Linked DNA regions of Homo sapiens: region 2 is linked to region 1. Evidence: promoter capture Hi-C in human tissues and cell types (Jung and others, 2019). All regions are on one chromosome and are shown on one strand. Each heading gives the region's core, a stretch centred on a gene start or on the middle of the fragment in contact. The rest is flanking DNA. Distances are from core to core; before and after follow the strand shown.

Region 1 (4,957 bases), core at 1,673-4,172:
GGAGAGGTTGGGAAATCCCAGGAGGAAACTGGTGCAGGAAAAGAGGCAACACATGGCCACCCCTAAACAGAAGCAGGGACACCCCCTCATGTCAGGAACCCCCAAGGTTAGGTTCTGAGCTCACCCTGAGGTTTTAGGCCACCCTGTGGGCCCTGGAGGCCTGTGGGGGCCACATCAAGCCTGGGAGAGACCATAGGGTCCTGGAGGGCTGTGGTGTTGGCTTTGCTGGGGCGCTTGGACCCTTTCTGATGTGGTGGCCCCTTCCGAAGGTGCTGCTTCTGTCGAGGCTTGGGAGGGGCTGGGCTCCGGGAGCTGGGAGTTGGGGAGGTGGCCCGGGAGCTCCAGGAGGCATTGTAGAAGGTCCTGGGCTGCAGGCGAGCGAGGGGCACTGTGCCGTACATCCTACACCTGGGTGGTGGCAGTTGGTGGAAATTGGTGACTGGGAATCCCCCTTCCAGAAGCCCCCAGGGTCGTCTCCATGGAGATCAATGCTCTGCCAGTCCCATCCCCCATCCCGCTGGGTTGTGGGGGACACCCAAGGAGGGTCTGCATCCCGGGCCCTCAGGAGAGGACATGCAGGATGGGACATCATTCCCTGGAAGACAGACAGACAGATAGCTCTCCCTCACCAGGCTTGGAGCCTGGGCTCCCTCTCTGTCTGGAAAGGGACATGAGGGGGTGGCCACGTACCCGCCCCACCAGTACCACGCCACACACGCCTCCTGCTCCTCCAGCACAAAGCAGGGGATCTCCAGCACGTTGAAGAAGGCCACGCCCACGATGTCCGAGATGGAGTCGTGCTGATTCTGTAGGCATTGCTGAAACCTGCCCCAGAACAGATACCCAGGACCCTGGGGCATGGAGGGCTGTCTGGCTCCTCCCACAGCCCACTGTGCCACTACCAGCTGGGTGGTTTGGGGTCCAAGCATCCCTTCTTTCTGGCCTCAGCTTTCCTACCTGCACTGTGGGGTCCAAGCTGGCTGAGCTTTAAGATCCTCTGCAATCCCAATGTCTAGTTACCCAGGAACTGGGTAACTCTGCCCTGTCCCTGAGCTCTGGGCCCTCGCTGCCTGCCACCAACCTGGTGTCACAGTCACAGTGGGAGATGGTGTGGAATCGGTAGTTTCGGATGCCATAGTTGTACTGCAAGGGTGAGATGTTCTGTGGGCAGCGGTCATGTTCCCGGCAACAGAGATCAGGTCCCTGGAAGACCCCTGCAGGGAGGGGAGGGGAGAGGGCACCAACTCAGCAGGGTCCTAGGCATCATGCACCAGCTATGCCCCCCTGGTAGGAAGAGGGCAGAGACCTGGTTCTCACCCCAGCCCTGACACAAACGCCATGAGGGTCCTCAGACCAGTCACTCTCCCTTCTGTGGGACTCTCAGAGTTTCAAAGCTGGAAAAGAGAAGCCAAGCTGCAGCCTCTGTTGGGCAACTCTAAATGCCAGGTAGCCCACCCATAAATACATGGAAAGGTCTTCCTCAGGGGAATTGGAGTCTGCCTCCAGAGTTCCCAAGCCCACGCCCCAAATAAAACTCCAAAATTATGAATGTGTGTATGATGGAATGGCAAACAGGCAGGGTGCAACCTTTCTCACTGGCACAAGGAGGTGTCGCCAGGATGCCAACCTACTCTGACTCAGGTGCCAAGCCCTCCCCCAACCCTGCACACAAACGCACAGACATCTGTACTGATAGTGCAAGAAATTCATCTATGTTTATTACCATCTAAAAAATAGCACTCTTTACTAAGCATTTCCCACATGCCTGGCACTTCCCACATCCAGGTTCACAGCCAGCCCTGAAAGGGAGGTATCACCTTCATTTTACAGGTGAGGAAATAAGTCCAGAGAGGGGAAGTGACTTGCTCAGCTTGTATGTGCTGAGTTGGGATTTGAACCCAGGCCTTTCGTCTCAGCATCCATTCCACTGGGCACCCCGTGCCCACAAAGCCTCCTCCTGGGTAATGGCTTTTTGGCTCAGTTGACCCTGGATCCTCCCCCAGCCTGCCCAGTCCCTCGGATGGCATTTAATGAGGACTCCCAGGTTTGAATAAGACTTTCCCCAACCGTGACCTCATTTAAGCACCCCATGATGAGATTCGTGATTGCCCCCACTTTACAGATAAGGAAATTGAGGTTCACCATGGTCAAGTCACTCCCCCAGGGACACACAGCCTAGGAGAGTAAGGGCTGGGGCTGAAGAAACCTTGCTTCCCCGATCGGACCCCCCAGCCCACACACCCCTCATGGCTCACCCAGCTCCGAGGAGTTCCCAGCAGAATCTCCAACTCCACACCACAGTGTGCCAGGCATGGTCCATCCTCTCTTCTCTCGCTGGTGCCCTCCACCAGGGACTCCACTCTGCCCTGCTGCTCGCTTCTTCCTGGCCCCTGCTGGACTCTCCTCAAGCGCTCGGCATGCCTCCCACTGACTCTGAAGAGTGGCCAGTGCTCTCTGCAGCTCGGGTCCGGGGGTGTGGATGAAGGAGCCCCAGGCAGTCTCATGAGCACAGAGAGCACCGTAGGCTGCGGTGAGCTCCGGCTCATCCTCCCAGCTACATGACTGCAGCCTCCTATGCGCATCCCAGCGGGCATGGATCAGGGCCAGTCCCTGAGCATCCTTGGCCAGGAAGCTCAGGTACCCCAGTGGGTTGCCAGGGACGGCCTTGGTCAAGTGGCAGGAGGTCCTGTACCAGCGGAGGGCAGGGGAGCCCCCCAGGGCCACCCCCAGGAAGCCCAGCATCCCAAACAGCCCTGCCTGAACCCCCATTCTGCACTGGCCCAGTCCAGTCAGACAAAGCCCCTGGGATGCCTGCCCTTGGTGGCCCCACCAGGCGGCAGCTGAGCAGTGGAACGGAAGCGGAGCCCAGCAGGCCCGGTGCGGCGGGACCAATGAATGGAGCTGCGGGAGGAGGAGGAAAGAGGCTGGAGTATGGGGTGATCTTGGGCTTGTAACCGAATCCACCAGCCGGGCAGGACGCTGATTGGCTGAGGAGTGCACTTGCCAGGGCCCACGCCCCCATTCTGCCTGCCTTCTCAGCACCATCCAGTCACCTGCTGCCAGCCCTGCCTAGATTGGGACTATGGGAGCCAAAGCCCTAAGCTGTGGGATGGGGACCAGGCTGGGGCTTTCACATCTCCTTGAAGGGAAGGAAAAGGGTTCAGGAGCTTGGAGGAGTCCCTTAGAACCCACCCTTCTCACCCTTACCACAGCGGTGGCTGCCACATCCACCTCCATCAGGCTGGCAGGGGGCCATGGGCCTCTGCCAGGGCTGGGTGAAGGAAGGGCTGGGGCTCTGAAGCTACCACCCTGGGAGTTCCCAAGGCTTCTGGGAAAGGGAGTGCCACCTGGGGTGCTCCCCTGCCAAGTCCTGGTTCTTAGAAAGGCTCTCGGCATACTCAGGGGACAGAGCCCCAGGGCTCCCCGCTTCCTAGGACTCCAAGCATGGGCCTGGCCTTGCAGCAACCCTCCTGGTCTGATAACTGGGGGAGACGCAGCGGGAACAGGCCTTGAGAGCCACACAGGGCAGGGCTGATGCTCTGGATTTGAAAGAACTATGGTCCCTAGAGTGGCAGAGAGTGGCCCAGGGTGTATGTCTGTGGCCACCTCCATCCCTGGCCACCTGGGGGGACACAGCAGGCATCATGTGTGCCTCATGAGACAGGAATCTCTCCATCAGGAAGGGGCTATACCCAGGTATTGTTCCTGGATCCCAAAGCCCAGCTTCCAACCATCTAGTGAGGCCAGGGTGCTTACACCCATAGTGCAGATGAAGAAACTGAGGCTCAGTGAGGGTGGGAAAACCTCAGGTGACAGGCTCCAGCTGGGGAGGGCTTAGAGGATGGGAATGCAGCGCTTGGGGATCTGGATGGGAGTCAGGGCTGGCCAGGACAGTGACTTGTCTGTCTTCCATCTGCCCATTAGCCTGCTGCTTCTCCAGCCTCCCCCTGCCCCAGGCTCCATCTGAGTCTCTTCCAGGGGATGAGCCCCAGTGAGGTAAAGCCAGGGGCAGAGCTGGGGAAGGAGAGCTCACTGTGTGGCAGAGGGGGAAGGGGGCTGCAGGGTGGGCAGGTCCATCTCTGTAGCTTCAGAACCAGCCTGGGCCTGTGGCTCAAAGCATCATAGCTGGGAACAATGAAGAGAAGGGAAAGAGGGTAGGGCTAGTCCAGGGACCAAGCGCCTTCTTGCCAGAGGTTGAGAAAGGGGGTGTGGAATACAGCGAGTGGTGGCAGAGGAGGTAGACCTGGGGTCCCCAAGGGCAAGGATGTAGCTGAACAAAGGTGAGTCCTTCTGTGAAGAGTTGTGATGTTTGAAAAATCATCATGCTGAGACTTCCTCCCATCATAGGAACTGCCACCCACCTCTGCCCCCTTTTCCACATTGCTGAGCCCTTCCCTGCCCATCACCTGGGGAGGCTGGGAGGTAGGATACGAGGAGCCAAGCTTTCGAGGTCAGACAGGTCCAGCTTAGGTTTCCACACAGACCCTAGGCTTGGAAATCTTAACTTCTCTGAGTCTTAGTTTCCTCATCTGTATCATGGGCATAATCACAGTAGTCACTCCACAGGATGTTGGGTAAGATTCCCAGCACAGTTCCTGGCACCCAAAACACCATCACTAAAGCCTCAGGATACCCCTGGCCAGGAAGCAGTTTACTCAGGAGAAAGCAAGTCCCAAGATTTTGGGGCCACAGCATCTGTGATATCTGAGAGCTCGGGCTAGATGGCAACTGTGGGAACAGTGGCCAGGACACTACCTGCCTGGGTCACTCCAGGCTTGTCCCTGTCCCTTTCTGGGACTCAGTTTCCCCCACTGTACAGTGAGAAGTACAGTGGAGTTGAACTTTGAGGTCTTTTCCAGTCTGGGTCTCAAAGAACATCAGGCTGGGGCTTGCCCAGGCCTCGAGGGAGGGTGTCACTGAGCTTTCTGTCCAGACTCCACCCAAAAACAAGTCAGTC
Region 2 (4,957 bases), core at 980-3,479, 37 kb after region 1:
TTGTCAAGGACTTAGGGAAACAAATGTCTTATGTATTTCTCATAGGAATATAAATTGGCACATCTTCCCTGGGGGTATTCAGCACTGTCTCAAAGTTACAAATATAAATACTTTGACCCTGCAGTTCTACTTCTAGGGTTTATACTAATAATATAGTCAAGCAGTCTTGAAGGTAGAAAACAGGGCTGTTGGGTTCCAGGGATAGGGAGAGACTTTTCAGCCTATATCCTTTTGTTGTACCTATTGAATTTTGAGCCATGTAAACGTGTTACTTATTAAAAAAATAAATTCATAAAATTAAAATTGTTAAAATTTCTGAGATGATTATTATTCTAAGGACCATTCACACCTCAGTTGTGAATGTACTTAATTCAGATTGGTTTCCTTTTTGTTCTCTACTGAGATCTGAAGGTATTGGACCTTTCACATCTTTTATTTTGTAATTTGAGATGGGAGCTCTCTGTGTTGACCAGGCTGGTCTCGAACTCCTGGCCTCAACCAATCCTCCCATCTTGGCCTCCCAAAGTGCTAGGATTACAGATGTGAGCCACCATGCTTGGCCTATTTTCTCCTGAGTATTAACAGAGTACTCACTATGGAAAAGGTGGCAAGTACATGTAAGTATTTTTTAAAGCTTAAGAAATTTGTCCATAAGTCCACTGTCCGGAGACTACTACAGTTAATATTTTTGACCTCTTTTTTTGGTATCTTTTTAACCTGCTGATAACAAATAAATTCAATTTTTTTTTTTTTTGAGACAGAATCTCGCTCTGTCGCCCAGGCTGGAGTGCAGTGGGCTCGCTGCAGCCTCTCCCTCCCAGGTTCAAGCAATTCTCCTGTGTCAGACTCCCAGCTGCTCCAAATCCTGGGCTCAAGCAATCTTCCTGCCTCAGCCTCCCAAAGTGCTAGGAATGCAGGTATGACCCACCGCACCTGGCCACATATATATTCAACTTTGTATACAATTTTACATCCTGCTTTTTTCTTTTTCTTTTTTTTTTTTTTTTAGACAGAGTCTTGCTCTGTCACCCAGGCTGGAGTGTAGTGGTGCGATCTCAGCTCACTGTAAGCTCCGCCTCCCAGGTTCACACCATTCTCCTGCCTCAGCCTCCCGAGTTGCTGGGACTACAGGTGCCCGCCACCATGCCCGGCTAATTTTTTGTATTTTTAGTAGAGACGGGGTTTCACCGTGTTAGCCAGGATGGTCTCGATCTCCTGACCTCGTGATCCGCCTGCCTCAGCCTCCCAAACTGCTGAGATTGCAGGCGTGAGCCACCGTGTCCAGCCCATCCTGTTTTTTTCACTTAACATTATGTCATGTAATTGAAATTCCTACGTAAGCAAAATCTCTGTGGAAGCATTATTTTTAGTGGCTGTGTAATCTATTATGTGGACGTACCAGTTTATTTAACCAGGTAATGGGAGCTAGTTGGGGAGAAAAAGAGACGTTAAAATCATGGAGCCCTTTGGAAGGTTAGGCAGATCTGGGTTAGGTACCCTATAGGGTATGTGAGCCAGGCAGGCCAGGGCTGAAGGGCACTGAGAGTCAAAGGCTTTTCTTCTTCCCTTAGTCCCAGCCCTTGCTGCCTTACCATGAATTATGCACTTGTTCCTTGTACTGTGTCTACATCCTCCCCAGCATTCCCTGTCTTCAGGTACTATGTACACACTTCTGTCAGTTCCCAGTACACTGGGTTGCCTTGTTGGTTCACTTGTCTGTGTCTCCCTTTAGACTGAAAAAAAAGTTTTATTTCTGTATCTTGAATGCCTGGCAAATAATAGGATCTTTAATGAATCTTTGAAGATTCATTCCTATCTACTAAGTAGATAGGAAGATTAGAGGGAACCAGAGAAAAGGACCAGTGCAGCCCCAATGAAAAGAAGCCAGTCCTTTCAGCCTTCTCTGTTCTTCTGATCCTGTATTTGAGGGCCAAATCTCCATGGGCTAGCCTAGGAACCTAAACACCACTTAGACTTTAAAATTTCAAAGCTGGTTTATGTGTTTCCAAGTTCCAATAAACTTATTCAGAGTTCTTCCCATTCCAGCCTTCTATGAGTGTGATGTAGACATTCTTGGAATGCAGGTCCCATTTCTGCCTACGTGTGGTCCAGCAGCAGTCTAATGAGCAGCGTAGACAGGCTCAGGCATGCCAGGGTTCCTGGCAGAAAGCTTCTGTGTGAATAAGCATGTGCTCACAGAAATGAGACCTCTGCTGGGATCATGCCTGTTATTTATCACCCAAATTCATAGTCTTCATATCTAAGATTAACATTTCTAGGTGTCTCACTACACCCTGGTCTAGAAATTCTTGGAGTTAAAGGGACAGAAAAGGCAGATGATGAATTCCTACAGTTCTCTAGAACTTGATAATTGAATTTAAGAATGCTACAGAGAAATTTCCTCATGAGATCAAGTTCCCTGGTGGTTCCTGCAGGGATATTCAACTCTCGTGTTCTCTTTCTTGCTCAATTCCTGTGAGGTGGGCCAGACCAAGTAGACCAAAGGCCAGCTCTGGGAAGGTAATATATTGAAGATACTGGGTCAGTCAACTTCAGCCGCCAGGCTCTGTGTTCCTACAGGATCATTAAGTATTGCAAATCCGCGTTAGTCCCAGCACCACATGTGTTGCCCTGGACATCTCAAAGTTAGGACTGTTTTTTAAAACTAGGTGTGAACTTATTTCTTAAAATGATCAGCTGTGTTCCAGTTGGACTAAATGCTGATTAATCTGAATTCAGCAGATTTGTCCCTTACCCCCCAAGTTTATCTGACCTCTCTGTAGTCCCTGTGGATTGTAGCTGGATAGGCCCTGAGGTTTCTGTCCTTCTAAAATACTGTATTTTGTTGGTATTGCTTTGTGCTATTGATAGAGCTGTACCCTCTTCTAGAGCTGGGTTTCCAAAACTCTGTTAATTAGAGAATCATCTAGGGTAGAAAGTGAGGGCTACATTAAAAGCATACAGATTCTTAGGCCTGATCTAGGTCCAGATCCTATTTAAATCTCTGAAGGGATCTGGGAACCAGATCTTTCGTGGGGTGAGAGGATGCTTTGTTTAAGAAAAACAGGCAAAAACAACAACGAAAGGAAAAACAGGTGAGTTTGATGGAGCCCCTTGTTTAGAATTCTTAAAATTAATCTATGTGCCTTCAGCTCCTGTACTAGACTCCAAGACCTCAACTTGGTCTTATTCCTCTTTGTAACTCCTCCACAGTTGGTAGCACCAGACCTCAAATGTAATTGGCATTGGAAAACTGCTGGTTGGTTGAATGAATAAGTGGATGAGTGATTAATTTACTCTGTACTCATTTCAAACAGCACAAAAGTTACAACATTGCACGATAAATTTGAGGGAAGACAAAAACCAGGTATTTAATTTTGTAAAGCAGCATGTTAATAGAAAAACATAAGAATGAAGAGAGTGCTGAATATTGTGTTAGGAAGTCTGAATTTGGCATTGCGTGGTGTCCTGGCCTTAGGCAGTCCTCTAATGTCCCTGGCCCAGTGTCCTCATCTGTAAAATGGCATGAGGATAAAATGCAGCGATAGATGTGAAATGCTTTGAAAACTAGAGAGTGGATTCTGGTCAGGAGAAAAGAATGGTCAGGGTAGGGACAGAGGCACAGAACTAGCCACAACAAGGTTGCTCTGTGGTTAGGTGAAAGTCTATAGCTTCTACAGGGACCATGAGAAATTTTAGCAGGATGGCCATATAGGTATGCTCAGGACCTGATTCTCTTTCTGCCTAGTTCCTGAGCCGATCAGGAACCTCTATGTTTTGGGCCACTGTCCCAGTCCTGGTAGACCCATATGGTTCTGTAGGTGCTCAGTAGACAATCCCCAGGGGAAGCTGCTGATTTCTGCCATGCCACCTTGGTGTACTGAGATTCCTGTGCATAGGTGTAGGAGAAGGTGAGAAGAGGTGGCTCCAGGGATGAGTATGCAGCTGTGGGGCCCAGAATATGTTACAAAGAAAAGTTGGTGACCAGCCAGCTGGGAGTTGACCAAAGTCAGTCATGCGTGCCCATCCTCACTCAGCAAATATTTGAGTGCCTGCTAGGATGAGGCTGTAGATCCTGGGTGGGGACCATGTGGTGTCTACTAAGATTTACAAGGAGAGTGATATGGCCTGCCTACAGTTGGGACATGCAGGCCTGTCTCAGTGCCTGGCCTGGCACAAGGCTGCCACTCCCTGCAAACTCTGAGCTGACCTGTTACTGTCCCTTAACCATTCCTACTCCAACACCTACCTTGATCCTGGTTGTCCCCTCATGCCTGTGTGTAGGAGTATGGGCCATGCACAGCTTTGTTGGGTCCACGAAGTGGGGTGGCAGTGGACCAGGTTACATGGTATGAAATGTGTGCCTCCCCAACAGCAACAGCCCTGTCCTGCCTTGGAGGGCCCTCCAGGTCACTGTGTTATTTCATAAGGCCACCTCAGTAGCCATGTAGGAGGCATGATACTCTCACTTTTCAGGTGAGAAAAGAGATTCAAATCATCAAGAGATCTACCGTGGCCATATGGACAGTCAGTGATGGAACCAGGACTTGAACTCAGAACTTTCAGGATTGGGGAAAACCAGAACATGGGGTGGAAACCAGAACATGGCGGGGGGGTGGGGGGTAGGAAATTTTATGTATTATTATTCTTTTGACTGATTTCAAAAGTAATACATGTAAAGGCCGGGTGCAGTGGCTCACACGTGTAATCCCAGCACTTTGGAAGGCTGAGGTGGGTGGATCACCTGAGGTCAGGAGTTCAAGAGCAGCCTGGCCAACATGGCGAAACCCTGTCTCTACTAAAAAGTACAAAAATTAGCTGGGCGTGGTGGTGGGCACCTATAAGCCCAGCTACTCAGGAAGCTGAGGCAGGGAGAATTGCTTGAACCCGGGAGGTGGAGGTTGCAGTGAGCCGAGATCACACCACTGCATTCCAGCTTGGGTGACAGACTGAGACT

The links. Contacts are between HindIII fragments. The study calls those that stand out against the background at their distance.
Region 2: a contact is called between a fragment that was not itself captured here and the fragment with the promoter of PLA2G3 in region 1, in 1 of the 25 tissues and cell types used here (bladder).

The regions. Positions count from the first base shown.
Region 1 is chr22:31,137,586-31,142,542 of GRCh38, forward strand. PLA2G3 (phospholipase A2 group III) reads right to left here and starts at 2,923. Exons shown (of 7, transcript NM_015715.5): 1 at 2,256-2,923; 2 at 1,082-1,214; 3 at 691-825; 4 at 125-408. The coding sequence starts at 2,769. RefSeq lists enhancers at 209-709, 2,427-2,985, 2,986-3,545. The HindIII fragment of the contact is 19,816 bases long and covers 1-4,957 here.
Region 2 is chr22:31,175,501-31,180,457 of GRCh38, forward strand. All of the region lies in intron 1 of RNF185 (ring finger protein 185), which reads left to right. Among named protein-coding and RNA genes, the nearest start is that of RNF185, 18 kb to the left of the region's middle. The HindIII fragment of the contact is 4,593 bases long and covers 1-4,526 here.